Regions from separate parts of the Homo sapiens genome. Here all the other regions are linked to region 1. The links are contacts of gene promoters, found by promoter capture Hi-C in human tissues and cell types (Jung and others, 2019). All regions are on one chromosome and are shown on one strand. Each heading gives the region's core, a stretch centred on a gene start or on the middle of the fragment in contact. The rest is flanking DNA. Distances are from core to core; before and after follow the strand shown.

Region 1 (7,672 bases), core at 1,805-4,304:
TCCACAGGGGCCTATCTCCTCTTCACTCACAGGCCCCTTGGCTCTCTAGCCTCTCTGCCCAGGATTTGCCTTCAGCACTTGAGCACAACCCACGTGGGCTGAGGATCATGTTTGGCTGCATTATCCCACTTCTCAGCAGGGGTTAAGCACAGGCTGGTTCCCTAGGGCAAGATCACCCAAAGTTTGATTTGCCAGTAATCTCAATGTCTGCTCCACTGCAGGGCCCCAACCAGGGCAATGCTTGGCCAGAGTTGGAGAACTGAGTTTACCCCAGGGAGTGGGGAGCCCTGTTAGAATCTGACAAGGTACAGAAGGGCTACCAGCCAGCTTCTTCCCAGAACACATCATTGGTAGGTGATGGAGGCACATTCTTTATTCTCCAGGGAAACCTACCTGCCAGATCGCAAACCCTGACCCTGTCCCACCCTAGCCAACTGGTGCTAGGATAGGTAGATTCCTGCAAAACCAGAAGCCAAATTTTATCTCTGAGGCCCCTGAACCTCCTCCACATCAAGCTGATCTCATTCCTAGGAAACAGGTTACAGAAAGCAGTCAGTTAAACTTGGGGCAGGAATCTGTATTAGTGACTTCAACTGCTTCCCCACAGCAGGCACTATAGTCCGAAATACAGTACTTAGCCTGCTTAGCAAAGCTGTGCTAAGGATCAAACCTACCTACCTTCCTAAAAAAGAGGGTGTGTGTGTGTATGTGTGTGCTTAATATACTTGAAGAATAGAAAGTGGATCATTTAACCAACATTTGGAGGCGAGGTCCAATCAGTTCAACCTGAGAATTCCAGGAAGGGTGATGGCTGGCAGGATTCCTTCATTTGCTTGCAAAGAGGATCAAATTCCAAACCAGTAAGTCTATTACTGTAACCAGAACCTGTTGGAGTCACCTATTTGCACAGGTAGCTGTAGTACCTGACTTCCCCGGGCTCTGCTGAATTCACAGGAACTCCTGAGCAGCAAAAAGAGTTGGCAAGTGGGCAGGTTATAGGGCTACACGCTTTGATTACTGAGCCTCAAGATCCCAGGGCACTAGCCAAGCAGGTAAGCCACAGCCAGAAAAATGGCAGCTTCTCTATCCTCCAGAAAGACAGGGACAGACAGAGCAAAGAGCCTCAGCTTGTGATGTTTAAGTCTCCTCTGATGAGTTTAATTCAGGGCAGAGTTTTAGGTTTCAGGGATACCTGCCAGTCCCTATATGGGCAAAGGTGGAGCTGGCACAGAACCAGACTAAAGACAGAGCAAGGAAAGCAAGGCCAGACAGGGTATACGTTCAAGCTCAATACAGGAAGGATGAGAACTGAGCCTAAGACAAAGCAGAACCAAACAAGGGAAGTGGGTGGTGGGTAGGCAGGGATCCAAGATCCATTATGAGCCTGAATCCTTTAGCCTAACATCAAAGCCCCTCACTACCGGCTGCCCAGGCTTCTGCTCCAGCTTACACCTGTAATCCCAGCAATTTAAGAGGGCAAGGTGGGAGGATTGAGCAAACCCAGGTACTCGAGACCAGCCTGGGTAACATAGCAAGACCCCATACAAAAAATTTAAAAGTTAGTGAGGTGTGGTGGCACATGCCTGTGGTCTCAACTACTTGGGAGGCTGAGGCAGGAGGATCGCTTGAGCCTAGAAGGCTGCAGTGAGCCATGTTTGTGCCACTGCACTCCAGCCTGGGTGACAGAGAGAGACCATTTCAAAATATAATAATAGTACCACAAAAAAAAAAAAGTGTGTAGCTATTTACATAGCATTTACACTGTATCAGGTTTTATAAGTAATCTAGAGATTATTTAAATTATATGGAGGGCGTGGTGGCACGTGCCTGCAGTCCCAGCTACCTGGGAGGCTGAGGTGGGAGGATTATCTGAGCCCAGGGAGTTCGAAGATGCAGTGAGCTATGATTGCACCACTACACTCCAGCCTGGGAGACAAGAGTGAGACCCTGACTCAAAAAAAAAAAAAGAAAAGAAAAAAGAGTATACAGGAGGGTGATGTGGTGGCTCACACCTGTAATCCCAGCATTTTGAGAGGCCAAGGAAGGAGGATAGCTTGAGCCAGGAGTTTGAGACCAGCCTGGGCAACATGGTGAGACCCTGTCTCTACAAAAATGAAATAAAATAAAAATTAGCCGGGTATGGTTGTTTATGCCTGTGGTTCCAGCTACACAGGAGGCTGAGGCAGGAGGATCCCTTGAGCCCAGGAGGTCGAGGCTGCAGTGAGCCATGTTCCTGCCACTGCACTCCAGCCTGGGTCACAGAATGAGACCTTGTCTCAAAAAAAAAAAGTATACAGCAATCCCCTGCGGATACTGAGGGATAAATGTATCTAACACACACACTCACACACGTGGGCTACTAGAAAGGCAGTGACTGCGAATTGCTACTTCCCAGCCACTGTGAGAGATGTGGAAACCCCTGCTCCAGGACAACCACCACTTCCCCAACTTGGCAACCTCTCCTGCTCACCATCTAGCACCTGCTTCCAAATACTTCAAGGACAGCAGGAAGTTCTTTTCTGACAAGATTTGGCCTAATTTTTAAATAGCACTCAGCACTTTTTGGCAGGCCTAGGGCTACTTCCAACATCCCATGGCTTTCCTTTTTTAATTTTACCAACTTTTTAAATACACTTTGTACTTTGGGCAGCCCGGGTAAGCGTTCAGTGTGAGGAGCTGACACGGCCATCATTTAAACTAGATTAAACGACACTGGACAAATAATCGCAGAGCAGCACAAAGTCGGGCTGGACGGGTACAGATGCAAACCCTCCACTCAGGGCTCGGGGGTCCCTCCTGCTCCAGGCGGCCCCACCCGTACAGCCGGGAAAGTGAGGTCGCACAGATGGACGGCCGCCTACCCACGCACAGTCGCAAACAGAGCTTCATGGGCACACAGGGGAAAATAAGGACACACACAGACAGCCGTGGACCCACGCTCGCGGACACAGCTCCCCGAACCTCCCCTCCCGCGCCGCCGCGAGAACCCAGCTTCCCAGCCCCCTTCCACTGCTCACCCGCGCCAGGCGCGTCTCGGGGCCGCTCCCAAATATCGCGGTATCTCTGCCGCTCTCCCGCGGAATCTGACTGGCACGCCTCACGAGAGCACCGGGCTGGCTGTATGTCGCGCAGCCTTCTGGGAGCTGTAGTCCACTTCTCTGCCTTCCGGGAGTTGTAGTCCACTGGGGAAATCCTGGAGCAAACCCTGGCCCTGTTCTTTGTATTGCTGGGACTCTCGATAGGGGCTGGCATAACTGTCCGACCTCCTTTCCTCACTCCTATCAGCCCCACACACACTGCTTGTTGCTTGGGGCCTTTTTTTTTTTTTTTTTTTTTTTGCTGTTGTCCCAGGTTTATTGAAAATATTACAGTATCTCAAAAAGATTCAAACAGCTTCCACGTGGCGTTTTGAAATTCATCCCCACTGTTGGCTGAGTGACCTGCAGGTTGGACAGACTGCCAAAGTCCAAAAACATCAGCATTTCCTTAATGTCAGGATATGTTAATACTTCAATGATTTCCTGATCCAGGGCTGAGACCTCAGGAACATGATTATCTCTCCTTTCTCTCTTCTCCTCCTGCAACTTGATGCAGATACCTCTCACTGAGCGCTTCAAATCAGCTTCATCACATGCATGTTGTAGCCTGCTATCTTGTTGGGGAGCTGTTTTTTTTTTTGTTTTTTTTTTTTTTTTTGAGACAGGGTCTGGCTCTGTCACCCAGACTGGAGTGCGCAGTGGTGCTATCTCCACTCACTGCAACCTCCACCTTTTGGGCTTAAGCCATCCTCCTATCTCAGCCTATGGAGTAGCCAGGACTACAGGAGTGCACCATCATGCCAGACTAATGTTTGTATTTTTTGTAGAGACGGGTTCTCACTCTATTGCCCAGGCTGGTCTCAAACTCCTAGGCTCAAACAATCCGCCCACCTTGGCCTCCCAAAGTGCTGGGACTACAGGAGTGAGCCACCACGCTCGGCCCTGGGGAGCATTTTGCTGGAAATAATGGTGATCTCCTTGCACATGTGTTGTTTGTGTGGAAGTTGCTGCCCGGGTGTGTGTATTACTTTTTTATGACGAAGTATAGAAAAGGGCTATCTTCATGGTATTAGTGTGAATGGGGCCCATGTTGGCAGGTCCTTAGTAAAAGAGGGCTCGTGGCACTTAATATTTACCAAGCCTCTTCTATTTTAGGTGCACAGGATACAGAGATAAATCAGATGCGTCCCTGTTCTTGAGACAAACAGGGACACAGAAAATGACAGGGTAAGATCCTCCATGAGGAAGCAACACCTCTAGGCAGGAAAGCCTTCTTGAAGGAGTGACTTGAAATGAATCTTGAAGGACAGCCAGGAGGTTAGATAGAGGATCCCAATAGCGATCCAGGTGGAAGGCATCAAATGGGCAAAGGGAAGGCGGCAGAAGAACACACACTGGCATGCTTCCCTGCCCCCTTCATTTTCTAGCCTTCACAGGCCCCAGGAACCTCTGTATTCATTGAGGTGGCTGAACCAGCTGCGGGTCCCCTGCCCTGAGCTGAGGTGGGGCCTCTGCTCTACCCCCGCCCTTAGCCGCAGTGGACCATCTGGGCCAAACCATCCCTTACGCAGGGATCCAGCCGTGTCTTTTTTTTTTGAGATGGAGTCTTGCTGTGTCGCCCAGGCTGGAGTGCAGTGGTGCGATCTCGGCTCACTGCAAGCTCCGCCTCCTGTGTTCACGCCATTCTCCCGCCTCAGCCTCCCGAGTAGCTGGGACTACAGGTGCCTGCCACCTCGCCCGCCTAATTTTTTGTATTTTTAGTAGAGATGGGGTTTCACCGTGTTAGCCAGGATGGTCTCGATCTCCTGACCTCGTGATCCACCCGCCTCAGCCTCCCAAAGTGCTAGGATTACAGGTGTGAGCCACCACGCCCGGCCGATCCAGCCTGCTTCTTCTACTTCCTCCTCCCAAGGCAGGGGGCCTAGGTGGCAATTTCATCACCTACTGAAGGCTGCCTCAGAGAAGGAGCCACACAGGGTCGTATAGCTCTAGGTCTCGGGGAATGACAGACCACAGATCCACCCACCCCCCATACTTTCATGCCCCTGCCCCACAGCCCGCTGTGAGGCTCCACGCAAGTCCACAGGAAGACACATGACACAGCAGAACACACAGGGCCAAATGTTCCCCTTTATTATGGTTCACTCAGTTACCAAAGACAGACACATTGGCTCAGGCAGCTCAACTGCCAGCTGGGGAACATCCAGCTCCAGAAACAGGGAGCAGCAGCGGCACCAGGAGAATGGCAAAGCAGGTCACTGGGACCCCAGAACTGACCTGGGCCCTCCTTCACCCGACCCCAGGCCAGACCTTCCTACAAAGATGAATGTGTGCCCTGCCCCCACTTCTCATACTGGTTCTCTCCCCGGGAAAGTGCATAGTTGCCTGGAGATGCAGCATCCCAGGGCCTGAACAAGCTGGGCCACACACCGGGATCAGGCTTCCCAAGGGTAGAGCCAGAGCATGGCCATATAGGTCCAAGCCAAAGAGGCAGGTAGGACAGGAAACTGATTGGAGGTAACATCCAACAGGTCATGGATGCTAGGCAGGGAGCTGGATCACAGGCCTCCTGGAGCTACCAGAGAGAGAAGGGAAAGGGAGCCAAAGTTCTGGGGTAGGGGAGAGGAAGGGAAAGGGAAGAAGGGCCTAGACCTAGGTACCTTTTCAGGTACCAGGGACTGTGACCATTGCTCCCAAGAGAGAAAATGGGAGAGGGGAGAGGCAATTATATTTTGTGCCCAAACCTAAAGGACCATCAGGAAGAGAATTTCCAGAGGCCCCTGGCTCAGGATGGCCTGTAAGCCTAGGTATTGGGTTCCAAGCTGAAGCCAGGCCAGAGTAGCCAAGTGGGGTTTGGATTTTTGTCCAAACAGCTCAGGCAAGCTTCTGGTGGGAGAAGGGAAGGTGGGAAATGGGCAGATGCTCTTTGGGCGAGAACCCACTCCCCTTCAGGCCCCGCACACAGCTAGAGCCTCTACCAGCCATGTTCTCACACTGCTTGGAACAGAACAGCCCCACGGGCCTAAAACCACTCTCCTGAAAGTGGTAGGGAGTTCCGACTGGGTGAGGACAAGCCAAGACCAAGGCCTGTAGGCAGAAGGGAGCAAGTTACCTTGATTTGGAAAACAAAACAAAACTAAAGCCAGAGAGCCTCCCCTCCCACCCTGCCTAACCTGAAATCCCATTCAGGCTATTGTGCTTGCAGCCAGGACTGGGCCTGTGCTTCTGCTTGGGCCCTGAGTTCAAGTGCCCAGAACCGCCCTGTGACCAAGAGCAAGCCAGGGTGGGGGAAGGCATGCTCCCCTCTCACTGGGCCCTGCCTGCCTTCTCCTCTGACCTTCCCTCCGTGCCTAGCCCTCTGAGCCCTGTCCTACCAGATCCAAACAGAACAGCTACTGCTTCCAGGAATCCAACGGTCACCGAGAGATACCTAAATGCCTCACTGTGCTGGAGCCAGCCAGACCTTCCCCAGGGACCAATCATTACTGACATGCCCTCTGCTCCAGCTGTGCCTTTACATCTGACAACTGCCCAGCATGTCCCAGCTCCTCAGGGAAGGCAGTAAGGCAGATGCCACCTGGCACATGGTGGGGTCAGGGTAGCAGAATCAAGCCACAGCAACTGGGGGCATGGGGAGGAGGCAGAGGGACATAGGCAGAGGGGCTCAAGGGGGCTCTGGGGAGAGAAGGAGGAGAAGGCAGGGGAGAGAAAAGATGAGCCTGCCCCTGCAGATCAAACTCTCAGGCCCAAGCAGACTCATCCTTGCATTTTCATCCCCTGGGGGTCAGGTACCCAGGTGGGCTCTGCACCCCCAGCTGTGTGCCCCTCCTACATCAGGGGTAAGGCCCAGCTCCCCATCAGCTTCCTTGAACTGTAAATCAGATTAGATTTGGGGATCTGGGCTCAGTCTCAGGAGCAGATAAAACTGGGACACTCAGCCTTGGGGAAGACAAAGAAAAGCCACATAGGAAAGAGATAGACAGACCATGGGCAAGGGAAGATTGCACAGGGAATGTGACATCAGGGAACAGATGAGGGAGGAGGAGGCTGAAGGAGGCGAGGCCTGGAGGGATCAAAAGAGCAAGGGAATATCCCTGGCCTGTACCCACCCTCCCACCCACCACCAAGAGTGCTAAGTACTGTTACTTCCCAGGAAGACTGAAAGTAGAAACAGTTCCAGCTCATAACCCTAGGAAGGGGCCAGTCTTTCTGCTATGCCTCCCCTGGCCCCGTGAGGGGTCCCTGGGCCAGGGTCAGAGGGGCCAGAGGCAAGAGGGGCAGGTGGAGGGTGGGGGTGGGGGCTGGTTTAGCTCTAAACACACATCTAGCACCACAAGAGACCTCCACTGCACACTATTTCACGAGGGGACACAGACACAGCTACTACCGCACGGGACAGCTCCACGTGCAGCCCACAGCTGAGTGCCAAGAGCAGAATCTGAAAGGTGGGGGCTGGGGTACAGACATATACATATATATATATATATAACTCTGGTCCTTTGTACAAAGTAGGGAAGGAGAAAAGGGAAGGGGGAACCCTGCTTGGTAACCACAAATGACGATGTGGCTTGAGCCCCCTGTCCCAATGGCCCCAGCTCTGCCACCTGGTAGGCGTGGCTGGTTCACATCTCATT
Region 2 (7,672 bases), core at 2,383-4,882, 620 kb before region 1:
AGCCAGAGTGCCCCTGTGTGACCCAGGATGAGTCATTTCCCCGGCAGTTCATGGACAGCCCCAGCAGTAACAGGCAGAGGCCCATCCTGTCCCTCCCCCACAGAGGGGGTCATGAGAACTGAAAACATGGCTAGGCTTGGGAAGTGGCCAACATGGACGTGTCCTTGGGGAGGTGGCAGGAGGAAGGGACAGTCCCAGCCGGGCCACAGGCTGTGCAACCACTCTTCTGTGGACACTAGCTCCTTCATCTGCAAAATGGGGACAGGGATCTTCCTGCACACAGACAAGACGCTCATAAAGAGAATACACAGTGGTGAGAGTAGCTTCCAAAGCTGCAAAGGTGGGGAGGTTAACTTGCAAGGAGCACAAGACAGGCCCCCACTCTGAGCTCTTGTTATCTGGGTTGGGTCTGTGTCTCCCAAGGGCCTACCGGCTCCTCAAGGGCAAGGCCTGGGGCCTGGTCATCTATGTGTTCTCAGAACCCAGCATGACACCATGCATGATGGGTAAACGAGATGCAAACAGAGAAAATGAATGAACTGACAAGAAGGTAAATATCAAGCTCCATGAGGACAGAGACCGGGCCTGTGCACAACAATATCCCTGCACCTAGAAGCACATTTGCCACAGACACAGAGTTGATATTCAACACATTTGTTTGTTTGTTTGTTTGTTTGTTTGTTTTAGAGACAGGGTCTCACTCTGTCACCCAGGCTGGAGTGCAGTGGCACAATCGGGCTCACTGTAGTCTCAACCTCCTGGGCCCAAGTGATCCTCCTACTTCAACCTCCCAAAGTGCTGAGATTACAAGCGTAAGCCACCGTGCCCAGCCCAACACATTTGTTAAATGAATGATTGAGACAGAGAAATAAAGACAAGTTGCTCCATTCTATCCAGGCCATCCCCATCTCCCCAGGGCCCAGCAGAGAGCCAGACTCAGGACGAGTTTCCTGCCTGCACTGGGCCTTACCTTTTTGTAGATGGATGATGTCAGGGAAGTTGGAGAGCAGGCCCTGGTAGAGAGACAGTGTGTCCAGCATCTGGAAGAGGTCATTCTTGGGCTGCTCAGCAAACATCTCCCCGATGGCTTCATAGGTACGGCCCGTGTGAGAAATGGCACTGTTGAGGGCCTCAGAGCAAAAGGGGGGGTCCATCTGGAAGGAATGACTGATGGCCTGGAAGGCACTGCCCAGCTTCTGGAATTCCTTGCGGAAGCCCCCCACATGTTTACGCACCAGCTCTGATGCCACAGTGCTGAGCTGCAGGACGCTGTCGTCCATCTTCTTACTGAAGGCCTTGAAAGTGTCCACGCGATCTTCCACGTCCTGCAAGTCCTGGTGCTCGGTGGGGATCTGGAAGGTGAGCAGGAAGCTGGCACCCACCATCTCATCCTTCTCCGCCCGGCGTTTGCCCATCTTCCACTGCTTGTCATCCAGGCAGCTGAGGAAATGCTGGAAGCCTTCGTACTGGGAGAGCACAGGGTGGCTGGTCATGTGGTCCATCCAGAGGATGAGTCTCCGCTTCCGCTTTTCGATGAAGTCCTCCTCGAAGCGGCCAGTGGCCTGCTTCTCAGGCAGGTGGGGCACCGAGATGACAGTGAACTTGTGTAGCAGGCGGTTATAGAGCCAGTCAAAGTGTTTGTAGCGCCGGTAGACGGGTGAGGCAGCATGGGTGGGTGTGAGCTTGTAGGAGATGTAGCTTTTGATGCCCTTGAATTTGGTCTGTTTTGTGGGGTCCTCCACAGAGCAGGCAAATGGGTGGGGATTGGCCTTCCACTGGGGGCCACGAGGGCCCATTTCAATGGAGTATGTCTCAGCGATCTTGGCCATCATGGGCACATCACCCAGGATGAAGGCCTCCACTCCAGAACGCACAAAGCATGAGAAACGGTTGAGGTTACGGCCCACCACACTGCCTCGCTTGGCAGATGCCAGGCTGTCCTGCCGCTCCAGTGGTGGCTTGGGCCGGAAGGCCATGTGCTGGCTGGGGTAGGCACCAGGGTAGGAGAGGTTGAGGGGAGGGTGCCCGTTGGTGCCCAGCCCACCAGCCCGTGGCTCCTCCACCACTGTGCATCCGTCGTCCCAGTCATCCCAGTCATCATCATCATCCTCCTCAAAGCTACCCTGGTTTGAGAGGAAGCCACTGCCCCCACCACTCCTAGCTGGGCTGGCCACACTGGGGCTGTTGTACAAGCTCACCTGGGCTCCGGGAGAGCCTGCAGGGCTGCTGGAGTAGTCAGCATGGTTGGTGCTGATGCCAGAACGGACGATCTCCACATAAGAGGCAGGAAAGAGCCCTGTCTCCCCACGGCTGTTCTGGCCCTGCAGCCAGCCATCCAGTGAGGTCTCGCTAAAGATGACCAGGTCCTCATCCTGCTGGATGCTGATTTCCTCCTTGTTCTCACTGTGAAAGTCATAGAGGGCTCGGCCTTTCAGTGCCATGGCTGGGCTGGGTGGTATAGAAAGATGGGAAGGAGAGGGTCCTGCCCAGACCGGGGATGCTCACAAGGCAGTCCAAGAATGCACTCGCAGCTGAATGGCGCTTACACAGTTCAATCTCTCAGGTCCTAAGGTGGGGTCTCAGCACCCACAGATGCTGTCCAGTCTCCCCCTCTTCAAAGCAATGTCCATGGCCCAGAAACTGCCCTATCAGGTCTCCGGGCATATGCTTGTGAGCAGGGAGGGCTCATGTCCACAGTCTCCTCCTCCCTTAGCAGCCTCTGGGGGGTTAGAGGGGAATCTCTCCTAACTCCTACTCCCAGAAGAAAAGTCAAGTGACCTGGAGAAATCTGCCCTGCGAGGGGAAAAATTCGACACTTTCCACTGGAACAACGTTCTAAAATAGAAGAGACTCACTCTGAAACCACCATTCCAGAAACCCGGGCAGGGCTCGGCTGTCCCTCTGGCTCCCAGATTCTTTTGGCGGCTCTCGCTTTGGGAGGCTCTCACATTCCTCTGCAGATCTGCCCCTTCCTCCTTCCTCCTCTTGCTCCTGGGCCACTGGGTTTTCAAAAATCCGGAAAATCCAAGAGGGGCAAGGAGAAAAGCAGCAGCCGCCTGAATCGAGTCCAAGGGTGGATGTGTCCGGCTTCACAACGAGCCAGGCCGGGAAAACAAGGACTGAGGCTTACACAACAGGCCGCCAACTCTTCGACCCCGGCTGCGCAGCCGGAGCCCCCGCCGGCTCGGGCGCCCTCTCCCCGCCCCAGAAGTGGCCAGCCCCAACCCCGGAGGAAGGAGGGGGCGCGACGAGGCTGTCGGGCGACTTCTAGCCACTCGCTGAGTGGTCTCTTTTGTTTGCCTAATTCCTCAGCAGTTTCTGAGCCTGACGCTGACCCTGCTCTGAATCCCAGGAACCCCGTCCAAAGGTAACCCCAGCAGAAACCGGTTCCTCACCCGGGACTTACGACCCCCGATCACCACCCTCGCGTGCACGCACACACTCAACAGTTTGGAGTTTGGAGAGTGAGCTCCGGCGAGCAGATGGCGCGGCCAGCCGTCTGTCCGTCCGTCCTCCTCTCCGCCCTGCGGGGCCCGGCCAGTGGGGGGCGGGCTGCGCCCCCAGCCTGCCTTCCCCGGCGCTCGCAGACCCTCCGCTCCGCCAGCGAGAAGGCAGCTCCAAAACAAAAAGGCGATTCCGGGAGGTGGCGTCCTGAGGAAGGAGGGGATCGCCAAAGGGGAGGTGAGGGGTGGGGAGAGGGAGGAGGGAGGGGGAAGCAGGCTGGAGAATCGGGCAAACTCCGCTGCACTTCCGTGCGTCCCGGCGGGGCAGGGACGGCCAGCTCCGCCCTCCCGCGGGCCCGGGGCGCTGCAGCCGAGCCCCCGCCTACTCCTCCGCGCGGCTTCCCAGCTGGCCAGCGCCCTCGCTCGCTGGCGCTCAGTCCGGGAGGCGAGAGGGAGGAAACGACCCGGGAACGAGGGGGCCCGAGAGCCTCCGGGGCTGGTCCCTGGGACCGCCACCTCCCCTCCTCTCCCTCCGCCTGTCCGCCCTCGCCGGGAGACACCTCACGCCCCCGTGGTTGGAGCGCCCGGCGGGGGAGCTTGCCAGCTGCCGCTGCCTCGCTTCCTGGACTCCGTCATCCTCCTGCCTTTTCCGTGACGCAAATGGAGTAAAACTCCGAAAGTTTGCAAAGCGTGGGGCTGCAAGGAGCACCGCGCCAGAGCCAGGATCGGGAGATCGGGGTGGGGGGAGGGGGGTGCGTGGAAAGCCGCCGCGCCAGCTGGGGTTGGGGAGCAGAGTCGCGGACTCGCCTTCCCACCTTCCCATTCCCCACTCCTGCTCCGCAGGGACGGGTCGTGGCGCAGCTCAGAGATTGTTTTCCGGAGGAACAGAAACGGCCTGCGCGTTCCAGGCGTCTGACCTAAGATACCGAGAGCTGCGGGTGCAGCACCCTAGCCAGACAGGGCGACCCTGCCCTGGGCGACTAGCTTGGAAGGAGGGAAAGACACTACTCTACATCTGCAGCGACAGGGAACAAGTCTAGGTGCCACCCGGTTCCGTGTTGCTTAGTACAGCAGCGGGGACTGGATGTTCTGTGCTAGCCAGCGGCAGCAAGGAGAGAAGTGGTCAGGTAGAGAATCTTCGAGAAGAGGCAAGTGGGATCTGACCCTCGGTCAGCATATCGGGAACACTTTGGGCATTGATTCTGCTAGGCACTGTGCTGGGCACTGGGGAGTAGTACACCACAAGGCAGTCGGGGTTTCTATCCTGGGGGGCTTACAGTCCACCCTCTCTTGTCTTTAATCAATCCATTCTGTCTCAGTCATTCATTCAGCCAAGTCATGCACTCAAGAAACATTAACTGAGTACCTACTCTGCACCAGGCCCCTGAGCTACAAAGACAAATAAGACATTATCCTTATTTTCCAAAAGCTCAGATATGTTGTGACAAGTAGACAAATGCTCCCTGCCCAGTGTGACTAGTTAGTGCCATGAAAAGTGCACATGAGGGTACCTACCCCAGCCTGGGTAGAGCAAGGATCAAGGAAAGCTTCCTGAAGGAGGAAGTGCCTAAGATGAGGCAAAGGCTTCAGGAGGACTCCCTTTCCTGGCTATACCCTGGAGTCTTGTCTACCCTGTCTAGCTAGATCTTCCCTTCATTCTCTCCCTAGTCACTTATTGCAGATTAACTGGTACAAGGTAGTTCTGCTAAAGATGGATACCTTTGGCTGTTTTGAGGGACATGGTTCCCAGACCTCTGGCTCCAAAACCCAGTTTCACTGGTTCAGTGAGTGGATCCGACTCCCTTCGCAGGTCTGGCATTTGACCAGAATAAAGGCCTATGTACAAACCCCAGAAGGCTAGGTATCAATTTGCACAGAGAAATAAAACTGTCAAGCAGAACTGAATTTCTGCATCAATAGATCAAGGCAGTTTGGGCTACCCCTTGGGAAGCCCAGTTACCAGAAAGTTAGCTCAGTGAGTCTGGAACCCCCAAGAGGGGAAAGGGTATGAGGAGTCTCTCAGTCAAGTAACCTTAAAACCTTGCTTCCTGTCATGGGGCAGCCTTCATTCTAAAGACAGTTCGTCCTAGCATCTCTAAGACAGAATATACGTTTTCCCCACGTGCTTTTAGGACCCCCCCCTTCCCTGTGATCTATCTTCTGTCCACATAGCCTTTCTCCAAACTGAGTTTAACAATAGCATCAGGGCTGGGTGCAGTGGCTCACACCTGTAATCCCAGCACTTTGGGAGGCCAAGGCAGGTGGATTACTTGAGCTCAGGAGTTCGAGACCAGCTTGGCCAACATGGCGAAACCCCATCTCTACTAAAAATACAAAAAATTAGCTGGGCGTGATGGCGCATGCCTGTAATCCCAGCTACTCAGGAGGCTGAGGTAGAAGAATTGCTTGAACCCAGGAGGCAGAGGTTGCAGTGAGCCGAGATTGTGCCACTGCACTCTAGCCTGGTGATAGAGCAAGACTCCAATCTCAAAAAAAAAAAAAAAAAGATAGCATCAGCCAGGTGAGGTGGCCAGGAGTGAGAGGCTGCAGTGAGCCAAGATGGTGCCATTGTATATGTCATTATACTCCAGCCTGGGGGACAGATCGAGACGCTGTCTCACAAAAAAAAAAAAAAAGCAAAAAAAAGCATCTACTTCCTTAGTGCTTGCTGAGTGATGGACACTACAGTAAACGCTTTACCTTTATTAGTTTACTTAATACAATTGGGATTTCTGTTCACCCAATAGGGTCCCCCTCCAGCCCAACCTCCCCGAGGCGTCCTCAGCCACCACCCTTGACAGACTTTAGTTGGTTCCCAAACACTCAGTCACACATTTACAGACCAGCCATTTTGGATTTACTCCCACATGTGTTCTAGACGGGTTTTTTTGTAACTCTCAGGAGCCACCCTTATTTCCAGGTTCTTGGGAGGAACTCACTCCTCAGCCTCACTGAGATTTCCAGAACCTGTATCTTCCCATTCCCTCCCCTCCAGGGACCTTCTTCAGTCCTAGGGGAAACAGGCCATGTTAGCAGTCTCAGGAAACTGCACTAACCCTTGTGATCTCCCTATACCCTGCCCATTCCTATGGAAACAGTCCCTTTAGTCAAGTCTCACATTATTCTTTTTTTCTTTTCTGTTTTTTTTTTTTTTTTTTTTGAGACAGGGTCTCACTCTGTTGCCCAGGCTGGAATACAGTGGCACAATCACAGCTCACTGCAGCTTCAACCTCCCTGGGCTCAGGTGATCCTCCCCACCTCAGCCTCCCAAGTAGCTGGAACTACAGGCACCCGCCACCACATCCAGCCAACTTTTGTATTTTTGTATAGGGGGCTTTTCACTATGTTGCCCAGGCTGATCTCAAACTCCTGGGCTCAAGCAATCCTTCTGCCTCGGTCTCTCAAAGTGCTGGGATTACAAGCATGAGCCACCACCCCCAGCCTCTCACGTTATTCTCACTGGGGTGTGTTCTGTCTTTCCTGCTGGGACCCTGATTCATACACAGGAAACAGCATCCATCCCTCATCCAGGCATCCAATTTCCATCCTTTAGGAAAGGAAACAGCAAGGGAGAACTGTGCCCAGTGGTTTTCAGGCTGACTCTGCTGGTGGCAGCCTGCAGGACACACTGGACTATTACTGTAGGAATGCAGACAAAAGATGATGAGGGCCTGACATAGGGCAGGGGTAACAGGCTGGAGAGACAAAAATCTGGGAGAGCTTTTGGAGGTAGAATAGACTGGGAAAGCAACCAATAAGCTGCAGCTATTGAGTGAAGTATCAACCCACATGTTAAAAAAGATTTTTTTTGAGGCCGGGCATGGTGGCTACTGCCTGTAATCCCAGCACTTTGGGAGGCTGAGGTGGGCGGATCACGAGGTCAAGAGGTCGAGACCATCCTGGGCAACATGGTGAAACCCCGTCTCTACTAAAAATACAAAAATTAGCTAGGCATGGTGGCGTGTGCCTGTAGTCCCAGCTACTCAGGAGGCTGAGGCAGGAGAATCGCTTGAACCTGGGAGGCAAAGGTTGCAGTGAGCCGAGATTGCACCCGCCACTGCGCTCCAGCCTAGCGACAGAGCAAGACTCCATCTCAAAATTTTTTTTGACTCCACTTTCCCCACCAGCTATTGCCCCATTCCTCTGCTCACCTTTGCAGCAAAATTCCTTGAAATAGCTGTCTATACTAAGTGCGTCCAATTTTTTTTCTCCTGTTCTCTCTTTAAATC
Region 3 (7,672 bases), core at 3,555-6,054, 600 kb before region 1:
CTCCTGCCTCAGCCTCCCGAGTAGCTGGGACTACAGGCGCGTGCCACCACGCCCAGCTAATTTTTTGTATTTCTAGTAGAGATGGGGTTTCACCGTGTTAGCCGGGATGGTCTCGATCTCCTGACCTTGTGATCCACTCGCCTCGGCCTCCCAAAGTGCTGGGATTACAGGCGTGAGCCACTGCGCCCGGCGGCAGGAGAATTGCTTGAACCCGGGAGGTGGAGGTTGCGGTGAGCCGAGATAGCACCATTGCACTCCAGCCTGGGCAACAAGGGCGAAACTCCATCTCAAATAAATAAATAAATAAGATAAATAAATAAATTAGCTGGGTGTGGTGGCATGCACCTGTAGTTCCAGCTACTTGAGAGGCTGAGGTGGAAGGATCACTTGAGCCCAGGTGATTGAGGCTGCAGTGAGTTGTGATCAAACCATTGCACTCTAGCCTGAGCAACAGAGTAAGACTCCATCTCAATAAAAAGAGTAACAAACTGTCCAGGTTTTATTTTTAGATTATATCTTAATCCTATCACATCCCCCGACATACTTTCATGCAAGGTCTGCTCACTGGCTTCCACGCCTCCACACTTGGTTGCCTACATTCAGTTGTCTACCAAGTAGCCAGCGGGAGCTCACTAAAGCTGGAATCTGCTATCTCATAACTGTTTAAAAACCCTCATCTGCAGACAGGCATGGTGGCTCACACCTGTAATCCCAGCACTTTGGGAGGCCAAGGTGGGCGGATCACCTGAGGTCAGGAATTCGAGACCAGCCTGGCCAACATGGTGAAACCCCGTGTCTACTAAAAATATAAAAATTAGCCAGGCATGGTGGCGCATGCCTGTAATCCCAGCTACTTGGGAGGCTGAGGCAGGATTGCTTGAACCTGGGAGACGGAGGTTGGAGTGAGCAGAGATCGCACCACTGCACTCCGGCCTGGGCGACAGAGCAAGATATGTCTCAAAAACAAAAACAACCCCCACGCACCCCCCAAAAAAATAAACCCTCTTCAGCAGTGGAGGTAAAATCCAAACTCCCCACCGTGGCCTGAGGCCCTTACCTGCCCCTGTGTCCCAGCAGCCTCTGTGATCTTACCTCCCTCCATTTCCCCTCTGGGCTGGACACCTTCCTGCTCTCAACCTTCTCTTTTCTAAGTAAGGATTCTCCTGCCCATGGGCAACCAGAAGATTTTAAGGGGTACACAGATTCCACTTTAATGACATTGAATAATAGAGTGAGAAAGTGGTTCTTCCCTCTTCTGTCCTCTTTGAATTTTTCTGATTACGTCAAAGAAAAATTCTGTTAGTGTGACTCCTTATCACTTCAACACTTGCTAATCTCTGATTTTTACAAAGTCCCCAGACTTACAGCTTTCTGCAGACATCCATATCTATCTAGCAAGATTATATTAGGTTGGTGCCATTAATTTTAATGGCAAAAACTGCAATTACTTTTTTTTTTTTTTTGAGAAGTAGTTTCACTCTTGTTGCCCAGGCTAGAGTGCAATGGCGCCATCTTGGCTCACCACAACCTCTGCCTCCTGGGTTCAAGCGATTCTCCTGCCTCAGCCTCCTGAGTACCTGAGATTACAGGCATGTGCCACCACGCCCGGCTAATTTTATATTTTTAGTAGAGACGGGGTTTCTCCATGTTGGTCAGGCTGGTCTCAAACTCCCGACCTCAGGTGATTTGCCCGCCTCGGCCTCCCAAAGTGCTGGGATTACAGGCGTGAGTCACTGCGCCCGGCCAAAAACTGCAATTACTTTTGCACCAGCCTATAACATTATTTTCACGTATTTATTTATTTACTTATTTTTGAGATGGAGTTTCGCTCTTGTTGCCCAGGCTGGAGTGCAATGGCGCGATCTCGGCTCACTGCAACCACCGCTTCCTGGGTTCAAGCAATTCTCTTGCCTCAGCCTCCCGAGTAGCTGGGATTACAGGCATGCACCACCATGCCCAGCTAATTTTGTATTTTTAGTAGAGACAGGGTTTCTCCATGTTGGTCAGGCTGGTCTCGAACTCCTGACCTCAGGTGATCTGTCTGCCTCAGCCTCCCAAAGTGCTAGGATTATAGGCATGAGCAATGTATTTATTTTATAGATACCTTCTAATAAAGTGGGAAGTGATTGATGTAAGGTAATGCTATGATGTTGCCCTTTTTTTTTTTTTTTTTGAGACAGAGTCTTGCTCTGACACCAGGCTGGAGTGCAGTAGCGCGATCTCGGCTCACTGCAACCTCCGCCTCCCAGGTTCAAGTGATTCTCCTGCCTCAGCCTCCCGAGCAGCTGGGACTACAGGCATGCGCCACCATGCCCAGATAATTTTTGTATTTTTAGTAGAGATGGGGTTTCACCATGTTGGCCAGGATGGTCTGGATCTCTTGACCTTGTGATCTGCCCGCCTTGGCCTCCCAAAGTGCTAGGATTACAGGCATGAGCCACCACACCTGGCCAATGTTGCCCTTTTAAATAAATGTAGTCAGGCTTTTTTCTTAAATTAATTGATTTAAAGACATAAAGCACAGTGTGTGCATGTGGCCAACATTCTGAAGCTGAGATTCCAGAGGTAGCCCCTTCTGAAACACCCACTGGCTCTAAATGAACCCCTGGGCCAGGTGCTCTGGTTTTTGTTTGTTTTGAGACAGAGTCTCCAGGCTGAGTGCAGTGGCAGGATCACAGCTCACTGCAGCCATGACTTCCTGGGCTCAAGTGATCCTCCCACCTCAGCCTTCCAAGTAGTTGGGATCATGACTCATACCACTACACCTAGCTAATTTTTTTTTTGTGGAGATGGGTTTTTGTCATGTTGCCCAGGCTGGTCTCAAACTCATGGGCTACTTCCACCTTGGCCTCTCAAAGTGGTGGGATTACAGGCATGAGCCACAGTGCCTGACCTGGTTTTGTTTTGTTTTTTCAGTGATATGGGAAGTTATTCAGCTAGGTGTGAGTGAGGAACTAGAACATTTCTCCTGGACCTCCAGGCATGAATTTGGGAACTTCTTTCTCAGTCTCAGTCTATTTTCCTAAAATGTTTAAGGTCTTTATTCTTTTCTATGCAGCCCGACCATTAGATGTGACCTCCGTGGTTGTAAGGGATGGTTGTTTGGACACAAAATACCTAATATCCTGGGTGTCAAAATTCCCTAGTGAAGTCAGGCCCTGGACTTCTCTTTTTTGTCAGTCTCATAAATCAGGCAGACATGAGCTTTTATTTGTGGATGCACCAAATAAATACCCTAGTGGACAGCTTTGCTCAGCCTGGCCACTGAAAGAGCCACCTAAATAAAATCTCAGGTCCAGGCCGGGTGCGGTGGCTCACGCCTTTAATCCCAGCACTTTGGGAGGCCGAGGCGGGCAGATCATGAGGTCAGGAGATCGAGACCATCCTGGCTAACACAGTGAAACCCCGTCTCTACTAAAAATACAAAAAAATTAGCCGGGCATGGTGGCAGGCGCCTGTAGTCCCAGCTACTCAGTAGGCTGAGGCAGGAGAATGGCGTGAACCCGGGAGGCGGAGCTTGCAGTGAGCGGAGATTGCGCCACTGCACTCCAGAGCCTGGGCGACAGAGCGAGACTCCATCTCAAAAAAATAAAAAAAAATCTCACGTCCAGAAAAATTGGCCTTCCAGGGCCCCAGAACCCTTTTTACCAGTCTAGTAATAGCCTTTCATCAGCCTAATTTCCTATTCTTTTTAGTCTGAATGTATGGTGTAATGTGCATAAAATACACAAGTCCAAATTTTAGCATTCCGTGGACGCAAAATGTGCCAAAGGTGGATACTTTGCTTCTGTCATACATCGGTAGTCAACTTCCCTATACATCAAACTTTCAGCAAATTCAAACATTTTCCTTGAAAGCTGTGTTACTTTGGCCAAATTACTTAACCTCTCTGAGCTTCAGTGTGTCTACTTCCTCATGTCATGATTAAGAGTTAATATCTACTGGCTTAAAAAAGAAAAAAAAGGAAAAAAATTAAATGAGATGATGGGTGTGAAGCAGGGATTGGCTGAATGTAAGCATTCAATAAATATTCAGTTTTAAAATTGTAATCTCAGCCTTCCCGCCCTGCAGAGGCTACACCCTGGCAGGACTTAATCTCCTAAATCTCTGCCGCTTACCCTAGTCTTTTGCACCAATTTAATCATTCCTTCACGCAGGGTCTACTGAGCGCCATCCCTTGTGCTGGACTCTGGCTACTTAAATAGGAATCAAGCCAGGTCCCTACCATTGCTCAGCCCGCAGCCGAGTGGGAAAGAAGCTCGCAAAAGCAGCAAACAGGCAGTAATCGAGGTATGTATCTGCTTTTGTTAAGGGCAAGTGGGGGAGCGAAGGTCTGTGTCTGAAACTTGGGTGTGAGGGGTTAGTTGGAGTAATCCAGGCAATTGGCACTGCCCGTTTAAGAGCACGGGCCCAAGAGGGGAAGGGGACTCCAGGTGAAGCCCTAAGGCCCGGGAAGATCTGCGGGAGGCGGCAGGGCCCAGGGCGTTGAATGCCCGGCCACAAGATCAGCCTCCTCCCATTGGCGAAAGGAGCCCCGAAGAGCTTGTGTTCAGGAGGGAGGCCTCGGCCTGGTCAAGTCATCTAGCAGGAAGAGTCCCGGACAGTGCAAAGCAAATGCAAGAAGACCCCCTCCCTAGCCGATGGGAAATGCCCCAGCCGTTGAAGGCGGAAATAACGGCCTGTAGGCAACGGAACTCCCAGCGTTCGCAAAGGAGGGAGGAGCCGGAAACTCAGGGCGCGAGGCCTGTGGGCCCAGCGGTGAGGCAGCAGCTGGGGGCGGGGGGAGGGCGGACCTAGCTTCCCAGGGCAGGTGATTCGTCGGCCCCGGTGGCGGCGGCGCGTGCGACGGTCACCTCGGTTTGGGTGAGTCCCTGGGTTCGAGCCCGGGCCCCGCCAGCTGCCGAGTTGCCTCTCGGTGCCGGACTGTGACTCCCTCTGGCCGGCCCTGCACTCTGGCCTCCTGGGACGTCATCTGGAGGGATAGAGCCAGGCCTGGGACTCCTTTTGGGAGAGTTTCCGTTCTTCTATTCCGTGCTGTCCGGCCAGGACCCCTCAGGGACTTCTGTGGGGCAGGGGCGAATCATGCATGGCCTAGATGACCCCATGCCTAGAAAAAGGCAGTGCGGGGCGGTGGCGGCGCGCACGGCCGAGTGAAGCAGATAGCGTCCCCGGGGCTGGAGCCCGGTAGCAGGGGTAGGGAAACGCGGAGGCTGCCAGGATGCGGACCCAGGGGACGCGAGGCGGGGGCGCCGGATGGGGAGACGCGAAGGAGGGGGAAGGGGATGGGGGAGGGGGCTAGACAGGGAGGGAGGGTGGAGCGTGGGCGGGGCCTGGGGCGGGTCGGACTTTAGGGAGTTGGAGCGGGGGTTACTGGTGCTAAGACCACCTGGGGCTAAGGTCCGAACACTTGGAGGCAGCACCATCCAAGGAATGGGTTGAAACAGCAGGAGCCCGGCGGGGCGCAGTGGCTCACGCCTGTAATCCCAGCACTTTGGGAGGCCGAGGTGGGCGGATCACCTGAGGTCAGGAGTTTGAGACCAGCCTGACCAACATGGTGAAACCCCATCTGTACTAAAAATACAAAAAAAATTAGCCGGGCGTTGTGGCGCGTGCCTGTAATCCCAGCTACTCGGGAGGCTGAGGCAGGAGAATCGCTTGAATCCGGGAGATGGAGGTTGCAGTGAGCCGAGATCATGCCACTGCACTCCAGCCTGGGCAACAAGAGCGAAACTCTGTCTCAAAAAAAAAACAACAACAACAAAGAAAAAACAAAACGAAACAGCAGGAACCCGCCAAGAACAGCCTTGAAGGAAGGTAAAGGAACCGCCCCAGTATCCAGGACATCAGTTTTTCTTTTTTTTTTCTTTTTGAGACGAAGTCCAGGCTGGAGTGCAGTGGCACGATCTCGACTCACTGCAAGCTCCGCCTTACGGGTTCAAGCCATTCTCCTGCCTCAGCCTCCCGAGCATCTGGGACTACAGGCGCCCGTCACCATGCCTGGCTAATTTTTTTGTATTTTTTTTTTTTTTTTTAGTAGAGACGGGGTTTCACTGTGTTAGCCAGGATGGTCTCGATCTCCTAACCTCAGGTGATCTGCCCGCTTCAACCTCCCAAAGTGCTGGGATTACAGGCGTGAGCCACCGCGCCAGGCCCAGGACATCAGTTTCAAAGGTTGTGTGGTTCTTGGCAGAGCGGGAGCCCACACCAAGATAGTGCATGATAGGCCTAATAAAGGTGCTTTGGATTTGGTCATTACTTTGGTGATGAACTGAAAACATAATGACTTTTTAAAAATTTTTATCGGCCGGGCGCGGTGGCTCACGCCTGTAATCCCAGCACTTTGGGAGGCCGAGGCGGGCGGATCACGAGGTCAGGAGATCGAGACCATCCCGGCTAAAACGGTGAAACCCCGTCTCTACTGAAAATACAAAAAATTAGCCGGGCGTAGTGGCGGGCGCCTGTAGTCCCAGCTACTTGGGAGGCTGAGGCAGGAGAATGGCGTGAACCCGGGAGGCGGAGCTTGCAGTGAGCCGAGATCCCGCCACTGCACTCCAGCCTGGGCGACAGAGCGAGACTCCGTCTCAAAAAAAAAAAAAAAAAAAATTTTATCATGAAAGCTTTCAAACTTACACAAAAGTACAGAAAAGTAGAGACAATAGCATACATACCATTATGGATGATTTGAATAACATACCATATGGATCCCAAGCACTCATCATGAGGCCTCAGTCACTCAGGAATGGCAACCCTTGGTTGCATTGCAAAGATATTAAGGCACACCTCAAGCCGGGTGCAGTGGCTCATGCTTGTAATTCCAGCACTTTGGGAGGCTGAGGCAGGCAGATCACTTCAGGTCAGGAGTTTCAGACCAGCCACGCCAACATAATGAAACCTCTTCTCTACTAAAAATACAAAAATTAGCCGAGCATGGTGGTGCATGTCTATAATCCCAGCTACTCAGGAGGCTGAGGCAGGAGAGTTACTTGAACCCAGGAGGTGGAGGCTGCAGTGAGCCGAGATCACACCACTGTAGTCCAGCCTGGGAGACAAAGTGAGACCCTGTCTCAAAAAAAAAAAAAAGGCCGGGCGTGGTGGCTCACACCTGTAATCCCAGCACTTTGGGAGGCCAAGGTGGGCAGATCAGGAGGTCGGGAGATCGAGACCATCCTGGCTAACACGGTGAAACCCCGTCTCTACTAAAAAATACAAAAACAAAATTAGCCGGGCGTGGTGGCGGGCGCCTGTAATCCCAGCTACGCGGGAGGCTGAGGCAGGAGAATCACTTGAACCTGGGAGGCGGAGGTTGTGGTGAGCCAAGATCGTGCCATTGTGCTCCAGCCTGGGCAACAAGAGTGAAACTCTGTCTCAAAAAAAAAAAAGTTTCTTTTATGTTTAAAGGTTACAGAGGTTCAGTTATTCAAGATAAAAGGAGTTCTGGAGAGTTCTGCACAGCAGTGTTGAACATACTTAACTTTACAGAACTGTACACCTACAAATGGTTAAGATGATGAATTTCATGATATGTGTATTTAGCCACAATTTTTTTTTCTTTTTACAGACAAGGTCTTGCTATATTGCCCAGGCTGGCTTCGAACTCCTGGGCTCAAGCATACCTCCTGCCTCAGCCTCCAGAGTAGCTGGGACTAAAGGCAAGCACAACTGCACCTGGCAA
Region 4 (7,672 bases), core at 3,346-5,845, 560 kb before region 1:
CCCGGCACGGTGGCTGACGCCCAACACTTTGGAAGGGGGAGGCAGGCAGATCACTTGAGCCCAGGAGTTCAAGCCTGAGGCTGGGAGTGATAGCTCACAACTATAATCCTAGAGCTTTGGGAGGCCAAGGTGGGTGGATCACTTGAGGTCAGGAATTCGAGACCAGCCTGGCCAACATGGTGAAAACCCGTCTCTACTAAAAAAAACACAAAAATTATATGGGCATGGTAGTGCATGCCTGTAATCCCAGCTACTCTGAAGGCTGAGGCAGGAGAATCACTTGAACCCGGGAGGCAGAGGTGGCAGTGAGCCCAGATCGTGCCATTACACTCCAGCCTGGGTGACACAGCGAGAGACCCTGTCTCAAAAAAAAAAAAAAAAAAAAAACGGGCAAGATAGTGGTTACCCTTCAGCAGAGTAGTAACTGACTGTGGGGTGGGGGATGGGCAAAAGGCGAGGCTTTGGCAAGTTCAGAATATTCTATTTGTTGATCTGTGCATTGGGCACAGACACGAGTGTGTTCAGTTTATGAAAATTCATCTGGCCGGGTGCAGTGGCTTACGCCTGTAATCCTAGCACTTTGGGACGCTGAGGTGGGTGGATTGCTTTGAGCTCAGGAGTTTGAGACCAGCCTGGGCAATGTGGCAAAACCCCATCTCTACAAAAAATATAAAAATGGGCCAGGCCTGGTGGCACGCACCTATAGTCCCAGCTATTTGGGAGGCTGAGGCTGGAGGATCGCTTGAGCCAGGAAGTAGAGGTTGCAGTGAGCCAGGATTGTGCTGTTGCACTCTATCCTGGGCAACAGAGTGAGACCCTGTCTCAAAAAATAAAATAAAAAAATTCATCAAGCAGTACACTTATATTTGTACTTTTTCTGTATATTACACTTCAATAAAAAGAAAGCAGGCTGGATGCAGTAGTTCACGCCTGTAATACCAGCACTTTGGGAGGCTGAGGTGGGCGGATTGCGTGAGGTCAGGAGTTCGAGACCAGCCTGGCTAACATGGTGAAACCCTGTCTCTACTAAAAATACAAAAATTAGCAGGGTGTGCTGGTGGACGCCTGTAATCTCACCTACTCAGGAGGCTGAGGCAGGAGAATTGCTTGAACCCAGGAGGTGGAGGTCACAGTGAGCCGAGATCACGCCATTGCACTCCAGCCTGGGAAACAGAGCAAGACCTCCACTCAAAAAAAAAAAAAAAAAAAAAAAAAAAAAAAAGTATTCCAGACTGGTTACAATACTGAAACTAAAGGAGTGATGAAGTCAACCTCCAGTCAGCTGTATTGATGCAAAGGAGAAAATATCCTAGCTGAGATAAAGATTCAAATACCAAGGATATCGTCTCTGATTCTTACCAAGGGCAGCCTGAAGTTCCTATTGCATTAATGCAGAAATTAGTTGAGGTCAGGGATTGTTTTTAAAATCCTAGAAGGAGCCGGGCATGGTGGCTCATGCCTGTAATGCCAACACTTTGGCAGGCTGAGGCGGGTGGATTGCCTGAGGTCAGGAGTTTGAGACCAGCCTGGCCAACACAGTGAAACCCCATCTCTACTAAAAATACGAAAAATTAGCTAGGCATGGTGGCAGACACCTGTAATCCCAGCTACTAGGGAGGCTGAGGCAGGAGAATTGCTTGAACCTGGGAAGTGGAGGTTGCAGTGAGCTGAGATCGTGCCATTGCACTCCAGCCTGGGCAACAAGAGCGAAACTCCATCTCAAACAAAAACAAAAATCCTAGAAGGCTGGGCACGGTGGCTCACACCTGTAATCCCAGCACTTTGGGAGGCTGAGGCAGGAAGATCGCCTGAGCCCAGTGTAACTGCCCAATGGGATCACCTTGCCTGCTGCTTACACAGCGGATATATCAAGACAGGGGAATTGCAATGGCAAAAGAGTAATTCACACAGAGCCGTCTGTGCAGGAGAGTGGAGTTTTATTATTATTATTATTATTATTATTTTGATTCAGCGTCTCGCTGTTTCGCCAGGCTGGAGTGCAGTGATGCGATCTTGGCTCACTGCAACCTCCACCTCCCGGGTTCAAGCGCTTCTCCTGCCTCAGACTCCCGAGTAGCTGGGACGACAGGTACGCGCCACCATGCCCAGCTAATTTTTGTATTTTTACTAGAGACGGGGTTTCACCATGTTGGCCAGGATGGTCTCGATCTCTTAACCTCATGATCCGCCTGCCTCAGCCTCCCAAAGTGCTGGGATTACAGGCGTGAGTCACCATGCCCGGCCTGGAGCTTTATTATTACTGAAATCAGTCTCCCTGGAGCATTAAGGGATCAGAGTTTTTAAAGATAATTTGGTGGGTAGGGGCTTAGGAAGTGGAGAGTGCTGATTGGTCAGGTTTGAGATTGGATCATAGGGAGTTGAAATGAGTTTTTCTTGCTGTCTTCTGTTCCTGGTTGGGATGGCAGACCTATTTGGGCCAGATTACCAGTCTGGATGGTATCAGCTGATGCACTGGGTGCAGGGTCTGCAAAATATCTCAAGCACTGATCTTAGGTTTTACAATAGTGATGTTATCCCCAGGAGCAGTTTGGGGAGGTTTAGACTCTTGGAGCCCATGGCTGCATGACCCCTAAATTGTAATTTCTAATCTTGTAGCTTAATCTGTTAGTCCTGCAAAGGCAGACTGGACCCCAGGGAAGAAGGGGGTCTTTTCGGGAAAGGGCTATTATCAATTTTGTTTCAGAGTCAAACCATGAACTGAATTCCTTCCCAAAGTTAGTTCGGCCTATGCCCAGGAATGAACAAGGACAGCTTAAGGGTTAGAAACAAGATAGAGTCAGTTAGGTCTGATTTCTTTCACTGTCATAAAATCATCAGTTATAATTTTGCAAAGGCAGTTTACCAGGAGTTTGAGACCAGCCTGGGCAACATAGTAAGACCCCTATCTCTACCAAAAAAAAAAAAAAAAAAATTAGCCAGGTGCAGTGGTGTGCACCTGTAGTCCCACCTACTCAGGAGGCTGAGGCGGGAGGATTGCTTGAGCCCAGGACTTTGAAGCTGCAGTGAGCTGTGATCACGCCACTGCACTCCAGCCTGGGCAACAAAGTGAGACCCTGTGTTAAAACAACAACAACAACAACAACAACTTTGGGAGGCCGAGGTGGGCGGATCACGAGGTCAGGAGATTGAGACCATCCTGGCTAACATGGTGAAAGCCCGTCTCTACTAAAAATACAAAAAAATAAAAAAAATAAAAATAAAAATTAGCCGGGCGCGGTGGCGGGTGCCTGTAGTCCCAGCTACTTGGGAGCCTGAGGCAGGAGAATGGCGTGAACCTGGGAGGGGGAGCTTGCAGTGAGCCGAGATCGCGCCACTGCACTCCAGCCTGGGTGACAGAGTGAGACTCCGTCTCAAAAAAAGAAAAACAAAAAAGCCAGGCGCGCGGTGGCTCACGCCTGCCTGTAATCCCAGCACTTTGGAAGACCGAGGCGGGCGGATCACAAGGTCAGGAGTTCGAGACCAGCCTGACCAACATGGTGAAACCCCGTCTCTACTAAAAATACAAAAATTAGCCGGGCGTGGTGGCTCGCACCTGTAATCCCAGCTACCCAGGAGGCTGAGGCAGGAGAATCGCTTGACCCCGGGAGGTGGAGGTTGCAGTGAGCCGAGATCGCGCCACTGCACTCCAGCCTGGGCGACACAGAGACTCCGTCTCAAAAAAAAAAATAAAAAAAAAATCATAGGAGCATCACAACTCACAGCACCTTCCTGTTGTCTGAAGGCCCCTCCTTTGGGTCCCTCAGGACTGGCTCCAGGGCTTCAGCCTTGGAACTAGTTGTGGACTTTGGGTCCCTTTGGAATATTTATCTTTGGCTTGGAATAATGCAACAACGTACCAGACCCAGCCTTGCCTTCTCTATGCCCCATTCCTCCCCAAATGACTCCAAGACTGTACCCCTAATCCTGAACCCTTTGCTGCACTTGCCCTAGTGAAAATCAAAGGTCTGCAAAGGCCGCGTCATTCCTGAATGATGTTCGGAGTCTGATGTCGTTTCTATGGGGGATTAAAATTAGCGACACTGGAGATGAATTACAGGGTGCAGCCAGTAAGGAGGGAGAGAGAGGGAGGCAGGTGCGATTCCTTCCACCTAAGCATCCTGGCCTGGCAGGCAACCTTTCCAGGGTCTTTCAGGCTGCAAGCGACAAATAGTTGAGGATTGTGGGTTTCTCACGCGTAGGTGGCAGCGGCAAGTTAACCCCAGGAGAGGTGCCAGTCAGCAGATAATTTGCAAACGAACGTATTCTCCTCCTCCTCCGAGGATCTGAGCCTCACGAAATACTCTTTTCTTCCTTTTTCTCCCTCCCGCAGTCGAGTTGCCTTCCGTCCAGCTAGGGTCCCCTCCCCGCCCGGGTCCCCTCCCCCTCCCGGTCCCCTCCCCCGCCCGGGCTCCTCTCTGTCTCCCCCTCCCGGACTGCGTCCTCGCTCCGCCGGGCCCTCCTCGCCGCCAGCTTGTGAATGAGACGCTCAGTTTCTCAATGGAGCCGCGGGGGGCTCGGGCGGCCGCGGGGCGGCCGCAGCGTTGGCCGTGAGTCAGGAGGGGGGCGCGTTTCCCTCGCTCCCTCTCCACTCCCTCCCTTTCGCTGCGGCCGCCCGCGAGGAGCCTGGCTGAGGCAGCCGCGCAGGTCGCAGGGCCAGCGTCCGCGAGGACGGCCCGGCTGGGCGGCCCCGAGCTCTGTGGCGCTGTGGAGGAGCGGGAGCGCGGCCGAGGAAGCGGGGCGCCGAGGGGGTCGGCGGCCTTCGGGAAATTTCCGCCGACCCTTCGCTCCCGGCTCTAAAAGTTCCTGATTTCCTATTTCCTTTTAAATCCCGAGTGGCTGTTAGCTCTTCGCCTGCACTTTTTCTTCCCCAGGAGATAAGGGGGAGTGTGAGGAACGGAGCGAATAATATAAAAAAGGATTTCCTCCCGGAAGAGAGCGGCAGTTCGGAGAGATTTTTCTTAAGGAAGCAGAAGCGGCGTTTGCGGCCGCTGCAGGCGCCGGGCCCTGCCGGCCACACTATGCGCGAGCCGGCCCCGGGCTGCTGAGGCGCGGGGACGCGGAAGCGGAGGCCGAGCGCGCCGGGCTCCCGCGCTCGCGAGCGAGTTTTGTCCGCCCGGCGGCGGTGGCGGGGGGATGGAGCCCGCGACCGCGCCCCGGCCCGACATGGCGCCGGAGCTGACCCCGGAGGAGGAGCAGGTAAGCGGGCCCGAGGCCGCCGCGTTGGGTGTGTCCGGGCCCCCGAGGCCTACGCCGGCCTCTGCCTCCCGAGTGCCGGCTCTTTGCAGCCACGGGGCCGCAGCCCCCCGCTCCCGTGCCCGGCTCGCGGGCCTCCCTCACCGGCGACCGCGCCCCAGGCCGCCACCCCCTCGTCGGGGGACCCACGGGACCCTACTCCCGTTCCCGCCGCTTCTTTCGCCGAGGCTTACCAGCCTCAGACGGTGCCCTCCGCACCCCACCCCCTATTCCAGGGGCAAAGTTCCTTGGATCCAGGGGCCTTCTTCCCGAGATTTGCAGAACCGCTGCTTGCCCCCGGCCCTTCCACTCCCTTGTAAATGTTTTCCGTGAGGGTTTGTGGCTTTTGAAGGGCAGGAAAAGCCCCAGTTTGGGGGGTGCTTCCTGTGGGGATTATCTCCCTTCCCGAGGAGAGGGCTGAGAGTATTGGATGCATAGATGCCCTAGATTTTCAGAGGAGCCTCTTAGGTTTCTCAGGCCCACTTGGGCAGGTTATGGAAGATCCAGCCCTTCTCGTGTTCCTAAAGTCCCTGGCCTTGACCCCCCTATTCAGCTATCCCAGACGGGGCGCATCTCCTCACCCGCGCTTCCCTACCCTCGTCTCATCTGACTGTCTCCATCTTTCTGAAGCTTACATTGAGCTCTATTGTTCCTTAAAAGCCTATGACCTTTAGTTTTCAGAAGGAAGTGGTTTGCTGTCTCATTTTGGGGGCCCTTGTAACTTTCCCTCCCGCACATTCCAGCTGCGGAGACAGGGACCACTCCTGAGGAAGATGGGAAGGTCTGCTAGCTTAGACTGGGAACCCTACGGGCTTTTCGCTGTCTCTTCCTTGGCACTGCCCATACCCCGCCATAGCTATGCTCGATTATAGTCATAGTCTGATTCCATGTTATAAATAAAAAAAATAAAAATAAACATGAAAAAAGAAAAAGGCAAACCATGCTGGCAACCCATTTCAAGCTCTACAGCTCTTGTTTCCAAGGACCACATTTGCTAGCACAGCCTCTAGTGTGAAGACAGTCCAGTTTTACAAACTATTATTGGCTAATGGGCTTGTTGACCTGATTTTTTAAAGTCCTTGTCTTTTCTCCTTATTTGTGGAGATGACATTTTTCTATTTGGCCTCAGGCCACGGTTTTGTCTTTTGACACCTGGTGATGAAATCTGTATGGGAAAAAAATTTAAAAAGAATTCTGCTTTGTACAAGCAGTGGTAATGAATGTCCTGGTAACTGCAGTTGGATGTTAATAAAATGCTAGTCAGACCCTAGTGCAAGCAGGTGGCCAAGGAGCCCATTCTGCCAGAATTGGGAAGTACTTCAGTACTAAGATAGGATGTGTTGGCTGATTTTAAAGGGACAAAATCTCTTTCTTTCATCCTTTTCCTTGGGTCAGTCAGATTTCTGTTTTTAAGACTTAAAGCCATCAGTATTCTATGCAAATAGCATCCGTTGCAAATTTGAAAACTAAAACCAGGAAAAGTAAATATTAAAGTATTGATAGTATTGACATGGTATTGGCTTTACTTTGTACATAGTGCATACACATATATACAGATGTGTTTAACTAGTAAAAACCTTATCTTTTACCCTGAATTGAATGTGATGGGCATTAACAAGGACTAGGATGGAAACGGCAAAATGTTTATTAAAGTCAAGAGATTGTGTGTGTGTGTGTTTTTAAAATCTTATCTCTTTTTTCTACAAAATATTATTTTTTTACAAGCATTTCAAAATATTGAAACAAAAGCAGTATAGTTCTAATTATGGTAATGCCTAATGTTACCATATTTTAGTTTAATATCACATAAGAGTACTCTCTTTTTTTTTGAGATGGAGTTTTGATTTTTTGTTTGTTTGTTTGTTTTTTTGAGACAGAGCCTCGCCCTGTCATCTAGGCTGGAGTGCAGTGGCCTGATCTTGGCTCACTGCAACCTCTGCCTCCAGGGTTCAAACGATTCTCCTGCCTCAGCCTCCCGAGCAGCTGGGATTACAGGCGCCTGCCACCATGCCCAGCTAATTTTTGTATTTTTAGTAGACGCGGGGTTTCACCATGTTGGCCAGGCTGGTCTTGAACTCCTGACCTCATGATCTGCCCGCCTCGTCCTCCAAAAGTGCTGGGATTACAGTCGTGAGTTACTGCGCCTGGCCGGAGTTTGGGTTTTGTTGCCCAGACTGGAGTACAATGGCGTGATCTCGGCTCACTGCAACCTCCATCTGCCGGGTTCAAGCGATTCTCCTGCCTCAGCCTCCTGAGTATCTGGGATTACAGGTACCCACCATGCCCAGCTAATTTTTGTATTTTTAGTAGAGATGGGGTTTCACCGTGTTGGCCAGGCTAGTCTCATCATACTCCTGGCCTCAGGTGATCCACCCGCCTTGGCCTCCCAAAGTGTTGGGATCACAGGTGTGAGCCACTGCACACAGCCAGAAGTACCCTT

Evidence for each region. Contacts are between HindIII fragments. The study calls those that stand out against the background at their distance.
Region 2: a contact is called between the fragment with the promoter of SNX33 here and the fragment with the promoter of PPCDC in region 1, in 2 of the 25 tissues and cell types used here (lymphoblastoid cells and small bowel).
Region 3: the fragment with the promoter of SNUPN here is called in contact with the fragment with the promoter of PPCDC in region 1 in 1 of the 25 tissues and cell types used here (small bowel).
Region 4: the fragment with the promoter of PTPN9 here is called in contact with the fragment with the promoter of PPCDC in region 1 in 3 of the 25 tissues and cell types used here (lymphoblastoid cells, mesenchymal stem cells and spleen).

The regions. Positions count from the first base shown.
Region 1 is chr15:75,018,972-75,026,643 of GRCh38, reverse strand. PPCDC (phosphopantothenoylcysteine decarboxylase) reads right to left here and starts at 3,054. Exons shown (of 6, transcript NM_021823.5): 1 at 3,018-3,054. It overlaps SCAMP5 (secretory carrier membrane protein 5), which reads right to left. Exons shown (of 7, transcript NM_138967.4): 7 at 5,149-7,672. The coding sequence ends at 7,661. The HindIII fragment of the contact is 16,541 bases long and covers 1-7,672 here.
Region 2 is chr15:75,643,872-75,651,543 of GRCh38, reverse strand. SNX33 (sorting nexin 33) reads right to left here and starts at 3,632. Exons shown (of 2, transcript NM_153271.2): 1 at 971-3,632. The coding sequence starts at 2,441. RefSeq lists enhancers at 1-459, 3,157-3,848 and a silencer at 3,474-4,013. The HindIII fragment of the contact is 33,754 bases long and covers 1-7,672 here.
Region 3 is chr15:75,622,857-75,630,528 of GRCh38, reverse strand. It overlaps SNUPN (snurportin 1), which reads left to right and starts at 4,804. Exons shown (of 9, transcript NM_005701.4): 1 at 4,804-4,863. RefSeq lists an enhancer at 4,436-4,625 and a silencer at 5,276-5,325. The HindIII fragment of the contact is 13,243 bases long and covers 1-7,672 here.
Region 4 is chr15:75,576,238-75,583,909 of GRCh38, reverse strand. PTPN9 (protein tyrosine phosphatase non-receptor type 9) reads left to right here and starts at 4,595. Exons shown (of 13, transcript NM_002833.4): 1 at 4,595-5,196. The coding sequence starts at 5,134. RefSeq lists silencers at 4,238-4,727, 4,988-5,387 and an enhancer at 4,430-5,028. The HindIII fragment of the contact is 16,601 bases long and covers 1-7,147 here.